Regions from separate parts of the Homo sapiens genome. Here region 1 is linked to region 2. The links are contacts of gene promoters, found by promoter capture Hi-C in human tissues and cell types (Jung and others, 2019). All regions are on one chromosome and are shown on one strand. The core of a region is centred on a gene start or on the middle of the fragment in contact, and the rest is flanking DNA. Distances in the headings are between cores, read along the strand shown. Region 1 overlaps NR6A1 (nuclear receptor subfamily 6 group A member 1). Region 2 holds the start of NR6A1 (nuclear receptor subfamily 6 group A member 1).

Region 1 (4,001 bases), core at 1,255-3,754, 95 kb after region 2:
CCAGTTGTCCCCAGAAGTGCTTGGTTTGCATGAGCATATCAACAGTGGTGCACATTGCTAAATATGTCACATCAGCTAGGTTGTGTCATTTGATTGAAATACTAAGTTCTACAGTTAACGAAGGGTGATGATATGTACATTATTCAGACTTAGGACGTTACTCCAAGAGAAAGTGGTGATTAGGGTTCTCTTTTAATTTGTATGTATATACTGGGGCTAAGACCGTGTAGGAATCTAGCTCTTTTAGGAAGGTTGTCAGCCTCTAGGCATGGGAGCATGGCCTTAAGATGGTTGTGAACTTTAAGGAAAATGCAATTGGAATGGGATTTACTCAGATACCTACTGACAGCCAATAAAAACATTTAGGTTTAAATATTCAGCCAAATATTCTCTCAAAACTGATTTAGAAATCTATACTCATTACAGGCTTTTTTCAAGAAACAGTCTAGTGTATTTTCTTTAGGATTTAAGTCAAAATGAATTCCATGTTTCCCTTTGTTCTCTTTTACGGTAGCATTCTGAGTCTTCTGTCCCTTTAAAAATGTTGGGAAGCTTGTATGCATTCTAAATTGTAAGGTCTTTTGCATGTTACATAGACTTTCTCTGTTTCATGGGGTCACTGTAGCCAAAATACTTATGATTGAAATAGACATTGGCAAACTATAAAGAAAACAGGAAAGTAAAGGCTGGATTTGATTATTAGTGGTGAAAGGAATACTATCTGAGATTAGAATGATAAGTATGTTTTGGAGAGAAAGGTCACGAGGGAATCCTGTGGGCTGCAATAAATGTGTGCTCATATTTTGATCTGGATAGTAGTTAACATATATAATACATATGAGAAAACTTTATCAGACTTAAGATTTGTTTACCTTACCATATGTAAATTATATCTCAAAAGGTAAAATAAGGCTGGGCATAGTGGCTCATGCTTGTAATCCTAGCACTTTGGGAGGCTGAAGCAAGCAGATAGATGGCTTGAGCTCAGGAGTTTGAGACTAGCCTGGGCAACATGATGAAACCCCGTCTCTACAAAAAAATACAAAAATTAGCTAGTATGGTGGTGCCCACCTGTAGTCCCAGCTACTTGTGGGGCTGAGGCAGGAGGATCACTTGAACATGAGAGGTTGAGGCTGCAGTGAGCTGAGATCAAGCCACTACACTCCAACCTGCGTGACAAAGTGAGACTCTGTCTCCAGAAGAAAGGAAATAGTAATAATAATTTGGAAGTAAAGCTTGGTAGTTACTATACTATTTTGACCATATATGAAAATTTGAAATATTTCATGATAGGAAACATAATCCTATCACTCTAAACATGTCAAATTATATATCTAGTTTATGAGCACTAAGGCCTTTTTTTTTCTTCTTTAACCTGTTATTTTTGAGATTTGGAATTTTTATGTTTTTCTTGGATGCCACTGGAGGGAAATAGAGAATGAAGTCTTGTTTGTGTGGTATCAGTTGTTGAAAGGGACAAACGCAGTTTTGATCTTGAAACTAGCTTATGTGTAAATTCTTTTCAGTCTTGAATATGAGTGAAGTAAAGGTAACCACTTAGCTCTGTTAAGTATATGATTGCTCTAGTCACGAATTTTAAAGGTTCTATCGTTCATAAGTTTGTCTAGTACTTACTGAGGACTTGCCATATATCTGATATTGTGAGAAGAACTGTCCCAAACGGTGACATTACTATTTCATTTTGCATTTGAGGTTACTGAGGATCTGGATACTTAAACTTCCAATGTCAGAATATAAACAAGAAAGTAATCATCACTCTATAAACTGATTCTTTATTGCCACAAATGGATTATCACTACTTTAGGAGAGATCCTGTTTTTGAAGTCTACTGTTTTAGAAGTCTTTTTAGAGCTTGTACTAAGTGGCCTTTAAAAATCTCATAATAATTTCTAACACTTTCTTAATAACTTGGCAGTATGGCTTTGTCATTTAAAACAAAATCTGGAGGAAAGGAAAATATTTATTTCCCTGTGGCATGAAAAGAGGCTATATGTAGGTCATTTTTTTTTTTAAATAAAAGGCAAGAAAGTCTCCCTCCAGACCACATCAGAACTATGCCAGCTTGGTACGGGGCCCTTACCAGAGTAATGATGTAAGAATCTGAGAGTACATAGTGCAGCTGCCAAAGCTCATAATGTTTAATTTCAGCACTGTCTGTTTGCCAGAGTTTGCAGCTCAATATTTTTTTCTGTATGGATCAAATTATAATCACATATATTTATCTTATTGGGGTAGGAGAAGTAAAGAGTTATTGTTTGATAAATTTGCCGTTTTCCTAGGGAATGGTGCTGTTTTGCCTGTCACATGCTTCTGAGCATTATTCCCCCACTGATTCCTAAGAACTTATTCTCCTGGGTGAATTCTTCTAACTTGTGACACAGAGGGGCAATTCACACCTTGCCTGTTTATATTTTGCAAGAAAACCCTTCTCTTAGCGTGGGTATCTATTCAGGCAGTTCCATGTGCTACATTCCATCCATTTGCCAAGTCTTGGACTCTTATCCAAAGTACAATATTTGAGTATACAATTACACCTACACGTACCGGCAAGAGCGTACTTTTTCCTAGCCTCTCTTGGAGAACGCTTGAAGCCAGAGGAGCAAATCCAGATGTTCTGGATTGAGTTTGGCACCTTCAATTGAGAATTCTAGATGGAAAGATTTCATTTGGAAGTGTACCAGGCTTGCCCAGCAGTTGCTTCCTGTTGCTAACCATCATATTTTTATGACCAAAGATTCTAGACTGCCTCCTTTGTTGAGCAGAAAGAATTACACACTAGGGCCACATGGGAAGTGGCTTCTCATCATTTGAGAGAAATATCAGCAGGCATGCAGAAGAGGGTAGCCTTGCTATTGGGAATAAATCTGGGTTGAGAGCAGGTACAACTACAGCTGCAGCTCTTTAGCCAGACCTGGCTTTATTTAAATTTCAAACAGAAATCTTTGACATCAACCTAAGTGAACCATTATTGGCTGTCTGCCACCTAACAGTACCTTGTACAAGGAGGAGGTGCTCTCTGACTGTATTCAGTCAACACTTATTGAACACCTTCTGTGTGTGCCAGGCAATGTGCTAGATGCTGGTGATGAATAAAGTATTTTTTCGAGAAGTTACAGTCTGGTAGGAGGCACAGACTCTTAGACAGATAAATTACAATTCACTGATTTTATTTGTTGCTTATACAATTTAGTATTTTGTTTGCTTTGTAAGTCAGCAACATAAGCCAGTCCACAGGATTAACTCCATAACTTTCTAAGTAAGAACAAGCATAGGATTTCCTTTCAGTTCTAAAGAATGTTTACTTGCTTGCATTTTTGCGTCTTTAGATACCTCTTCTGACTTGCCCAGGGATGAAGTTTGTGGAGTATGGGAAGAAAAGACTAGTATAAGGCAGGAAGGCATTTCTAAGAAAGCTTCCAGAATTGATTATTTTGTCCTAAGAGATGTTTTCTTCACTTAAAAATTATGTGAGAACGCACAAAGGTTAGCTGTGTTGGTTATCAGTTTGTTGTAAGGTAAGAGCAAGAAAAATCATTTTCCTCTATCTCTCTGGAATGTAGGACTCCTTTATCTGAGTGATTACATGGTTAAGGCGGAGCTAGAAAATACATTTCCTTCATACCTGTTTCTGGATGGATGAGGTCACATTTACTTAGTAGTTATATAGTTCCTGTGTTGTAATTTGCTATTCCTTCAGCCTTTTTTCCTCCCATTTTTGAAGATGGGTATATGAATATTTCCATTGGGCCTCTCTTAAATACAAGAAAAATATTAAGTTGCTTATGTCCAAATTCATTTCTTTGATGTGCAGCAGCCTCAAAGCATGTGTACCTCTGTTATTAAGATAATAATAGTTAATATTTATATAGCACTTATGTTCCAGGTTTTATTTTTAGGACTTTATATGTAAAGCACTTAAAAGAGGGCTTGTCTTATCCCCATAACAACCCAGTAAGATAGATACTTATTATTTTTCCCAT
Region 2 (4,100 bases), core at 191-2,690:
GACAGAATGGAGCTGGAATCCCCATCACTTCTGGTGGACTTCATCAGTGCTGGAAAGGGACAATATTGTTGCTATCTCATAGAGCAGGTATGAGGTTTAGACGGCAGAGCGTTAATGTAAGTCTCCCAGATTACGTATGAAATACAGTTTCACCAGGGTTGGTAAGGTCCAGTTGCCCCCAAGTGCAGAGAAGCGTTGCAACTTTCGTAGCAGGTGAGGGACGGGGTATGGTGCGAAATGTGGGCAAGGGTCAGGCCAAGCAGGGATGCGAATGCCAGGACGAGGACTTAAAATTAGGCAAAAAAAAAATAAAAGGGCTAAGGGATTGGTGGGGCGGGTGGGGCAGGAGAGGGCGAATGAGCGGCCACCGAGGAAGCTGCAGCATAATCCGGCAGAGCAGAAGTGGGCAAAGCACCAACGTTCTCGTTCTTTGTCTTCAAGTGGGCCAGGTAGGCCTTAGACCCTTGGCGGCAGCAGCGAAATCCTTTCCCGATGGGGTCGCCGAAGACGGACACCCCGGCGGGCCTAGTGACCGGTGGCCGCGCGCCACCTGGTGGCCGCAGCGGGTGGATTCGGCCGGGAGCCGCTGCAAAATTCGGGATTTTGCTTCCGGAAAGCTTCGGGAAACTGAGGTGGGAGGGGCAGGGGTTTGCGATCTTCCAACTTGATCCTGTCCTTATTCCAACCCCCTTTTACAGATAGGGAAACTGAGGAAAGGGGAAGGCAAACAAGGCTGGGCAAGGGATCCCTCTTAAACGGAAGGTTTCAAGACACCTGGGGTCAAGAGCCTAGGGCTTTCTTTAATAGCCCCAATGGCCCGGAGCTTAGTTTGCCCATCTGTTCTATGGGCAGGGGGAAAATGAAAGGGGAGGAGGGGAAACTTTAGTCTTTGCCGCCCACCCGGAGGTAAAAAGTCTTTAAAGACTACCCCGGAAAGAAGAGTTTTATATATTCCATTTGCATACGAACGCAGTCACCTCGAGTTAAACTCCGGTCCTTTAATCTCCGGTCCAATTTGTCCCGCAGCGGCAGGGAGAGGCCCACGTGAGTACCTTCAAGCCCCGCCTCCAGGGCCCCGCCCACAGGGCTGGGCTTCGTTGCACGTGCTCACCCGGCTGCCTCGCGATCCACCTCCTCGCAAAGACTCATTGTTGGGGTGGGGGGTTACGAGGACTCTTAGGGAACTTTGATCAGGTAGAAATCACAATCAAGACAAGGCCCGGAAGTATCCGCTTACTACATAGACATCAAACGCTTTGTCATGGTTCTTGATATTGACAGACTTTAGCTTTCCCTTCTCAGGACTTCTTATCCCTCCTTCCACCCCTTCAGTTGGTGCGGTCGGCGTGGCCGGCCTCGCTGAGCGGACTCCAACTTCCAGCGTGCCCCGCAGGGCCTTGCGCGGCAGCGGCGTGTGACGTCAGGGGAGGGAGCTGGCCAGTGCTGAGGGGGCGCGGCGCGGAGGGGCGCGGAGCGGCGCGGAGCCGGGCGGCTCGGGGCCCAGAGAGAGCCGCGGCCGGGAGCTCGCGGGCTCCTGACAACCTCCTCCCCTCGGCGGACGACGACCACGGCGACTAGGGCGCCGGTCATGGCGGAGCAACAAACCCGGCGCGGACCCTAGGCACCACCGCATGGAGCGGGACGAACCGCCGCCTAGCGGAGGGGGAGGCGGCGGGGGCTCGGCGGGGTTCCTGGAGCCTCCCGCCGCGCTCCCTCCGCCGCCGCGCAACGGTGGGTGAGGGGCCTGCGACGCCCGGGCCAGGCAGGAACCGGCTTCCTGAGCCTCCGCCAGGGATCCCCCTCCTCTCTGCCGACCCTCGCCCTGGGAAGCCGCAGCGGCCCCGCGGCCCCTTAGGGTGGCCCTTCACCCCGTTCCCCGTTGGCGCGGACCCTCCCTCTCCTCCCCGGTCTCGCTCAGGGTGGATCCTCCTCCTTCGTCCCTGTTCCCTTCTGCGCGGACCCTCCCCCTGCCCGGGTCCCTGGGCACCGAGCTTCATTTCCCCCTCCCCCCGTCCCCTCTGCACAGGCTTCCCCTCCCCCCGTCCCCTCAGCACCAATCCTCCCTCCTCCCCCCGGGTCCCCTCCCCCTGTCTTCCCAGCACCGAACCTTCCCCTCCCCCCGGGCTCCTCAGGTTGGAAGTCCCCACCGCGGTCCGTCAGTGGGGGCATCCCCTCACTCGGGTTCCCTTAACGCAGAGCCTCTCTTTTCCCCTACAGGGGTTCCTCCTCCCACCGAGGACGCTCCCTTCTTGCCCTGTTGACCCGACTCCACAGCACCCTTGTACCGCTCAGCTTTCTAGAGCGTTTTCCTCTTCTGCAGCCTCGAGCGTTCTTCCTTGAATACTACGAGCCCCCCACCTCTGCCGAACCCCCGTTCGCTAGACATCCCCCAGTCGTTTCCTTTTTCGGACCCCTTCGCGCCTCCTGCTTCCCCTGCGCCTCACCTTCCTCAACGCCCCGCGCGCTCTGGCCGGTCTCCGCCCCTGCTCAGCTCCCCTCTCCGCCAGGCAACGGCTTTCCCTGGCCGAGGGCTCCAGCCCGCCCCGGGGCCCCGGACACCTGCCTCCTCCCGGCTTCTGCCCGGCAGGTCCCGGTCCCCACCTCTTAGTCTCAGTTCTCCTCTTTCTTGTCCCGATCCGGGACCTTGGGAGCTGAGAATCCCTCACCTGGCCCGGCCCTTCCTACCGCTCGTCCCTCGCCCCCTCGCCCGGGCCGGGTCCTCAGGTTCCTCGGGGCTTCCTCGCCCTCCTCCCCTTCGCTCCCTCCCCCTGCGGGGTGTTTTATTTGTATCTGTTTGATATTTTCCTCCTCGGTGTTTGCCGCGGAATGTTTTTATTGGTAACGTGTTAGGAGCTTTTGTGAGGTCGTAAAAGGTGAACTTTTGAACTTGGAAAGCGCCCTGGAGCAATTAGCGCAGGCGATCGCCCCGGGAGGCCTGCATTACAAAGGGTGCTCGCACCGGCCGGCAAACGCTCCGGCGGCAAACCCGATTTATTTATTTGCCCTGTTTTCCACCTTTCACATCTCCTCATTTCCGAATAAAGGGAGGCTCTCAGAGATCAGTGCCTCCTCCCCTCGCTGCGCCATAAACTCGCAGTTCTCTGAGAGATCTAGGACCGAACAGTGTCTAACAAGTAACAGATTTCAAATTGAATGCAAACACCCGGGACAGTTAGGAGGCACTAAAAATTAACTGCTTCACCAAGAGGTTTCTCAATCAGGACAGTGACCTGGCAGGTGTGAGGAAAGTAACCTGAAAATAGGTCAGTTAGGCGCTCAATTGTTGAATGAGTGAGTAGCTACAGACGGTGGAAATCTTGGGTTGGATCCGTGCCTTCATACGTTTATTAACTAGTCAAACATTTTGTTAGTTCAGGAGATCTGGTGTTTTTTACAAAAGGGAAAAGTCCGTGTAGAAGAGAGCTTGGTTAACTTCACTTGATGTTGCTGATCTTAAAAATAATGATGTGTTTTCAGAGCTCTTTTTTTTTTTTTTTTAATTTGTGTATGATGTATGATGGCTAGGTGGCTGGCCGTTCCGTGGGCTGTCGTTGGCAACTAATTTCTGAATGTGAACATGTTTGAGATCAATAAAATTCCGTGTCACAAAGGGGGAAGCTGGAATCCAGTTAGGGTAGAAGGAGACAGTATAATAGGAACAAAGGATTTCTTTAATGCCTTTGACTTTTTAAGCTAGTTTGTGTGGAGATTTGGTTTGGTATTAATTTGTGAGTGTTGTAAATCCTGATCTAAATTTTCCCATGCTGATTTTTTTGAATCCAAACCCCAACCTATCTTATATCCCATATTAGCGTGTATATTTCTGTGATGCCTTCCTATGTGTGAATACTTCCTGTACCCACCTGTGCATATAATGTAGATGACGGATTTTACTGCAATTCAATATTTACTGCAATATTGCTTTCAATTCTACTTGAGAATAATAGTGTTGTAAGAGAAACCTAAGAACTGCATTTGTTATTAATTATTCATTAGTACATTTTAAAGAACTCAATGGTAATTTTAACTCTTAATCAGATTTCCCATTCATAGTCTCATTTCCTCAATTGGTCAGAACCATTTGAAAGAATGTTATCGAG

What was found. Contacts are between HindIII fragments. The study calls those that stand out against the background at their distance.
Region 1: a fragment that was not itself captured here is called in contact with the fragment with the promoter of NR6A1 in region 2 in 2 of the 25 tissues and cell types used here (IMR-90 fibroblasts and dorsolateral prefrontal cortex).

The regions. Positions count from the first base shown.
Region 1 is chr9:124,674,472-124,678,472 of GRCh38, reverse strand. The region is part of intron 2 of NR6A1 (nuclear receptor subfamily 6 group A member 1); the gene reads left to right. The region is part of intron 1 of MIR181A2HG (MIR181A2 host gene); the gene reads right to left. Among named protein-coding and RNA genes, the nearest start is that of MIR181A2, 16 kb to the left of the region's middle. The HindIII fragment of the contact is 3,220 bases long and covers 895-4,001 here.
Region 2 is chr9:124,768,651-124,772,750 of GRCh38, reverse strand. It overlaps NR6A1 (nuclear receptor subfamily 6 group A member 1), which reads left to right and starts at 1,440. Exons shown (of 10, transcript NM_033334.4): 1 at 1,440-1,731. The coding sequence starts at 1,632. LOC124900274 (a long non-coding RNA gene) reads left to right here and starts at 2,271. Exons shown (of 2, transcript XR_007061773.1): 1 at 2,271-4,100. It overlaps LOC107987126 (a long non-coding RNA gene), which reads right to left and starts at 1,394. Exons shown (of 2, transcript XR_001746926.3): 1 at 978-1,394; 2 at 1-49. RefSeq lists enhancers at 1,041-1,300, 1,091-1,658 and silencers at 1,371-1,950, 2,491-2,740. The HindIII fragment of the contact is 6,332 bases long and covers 1-4,100 here.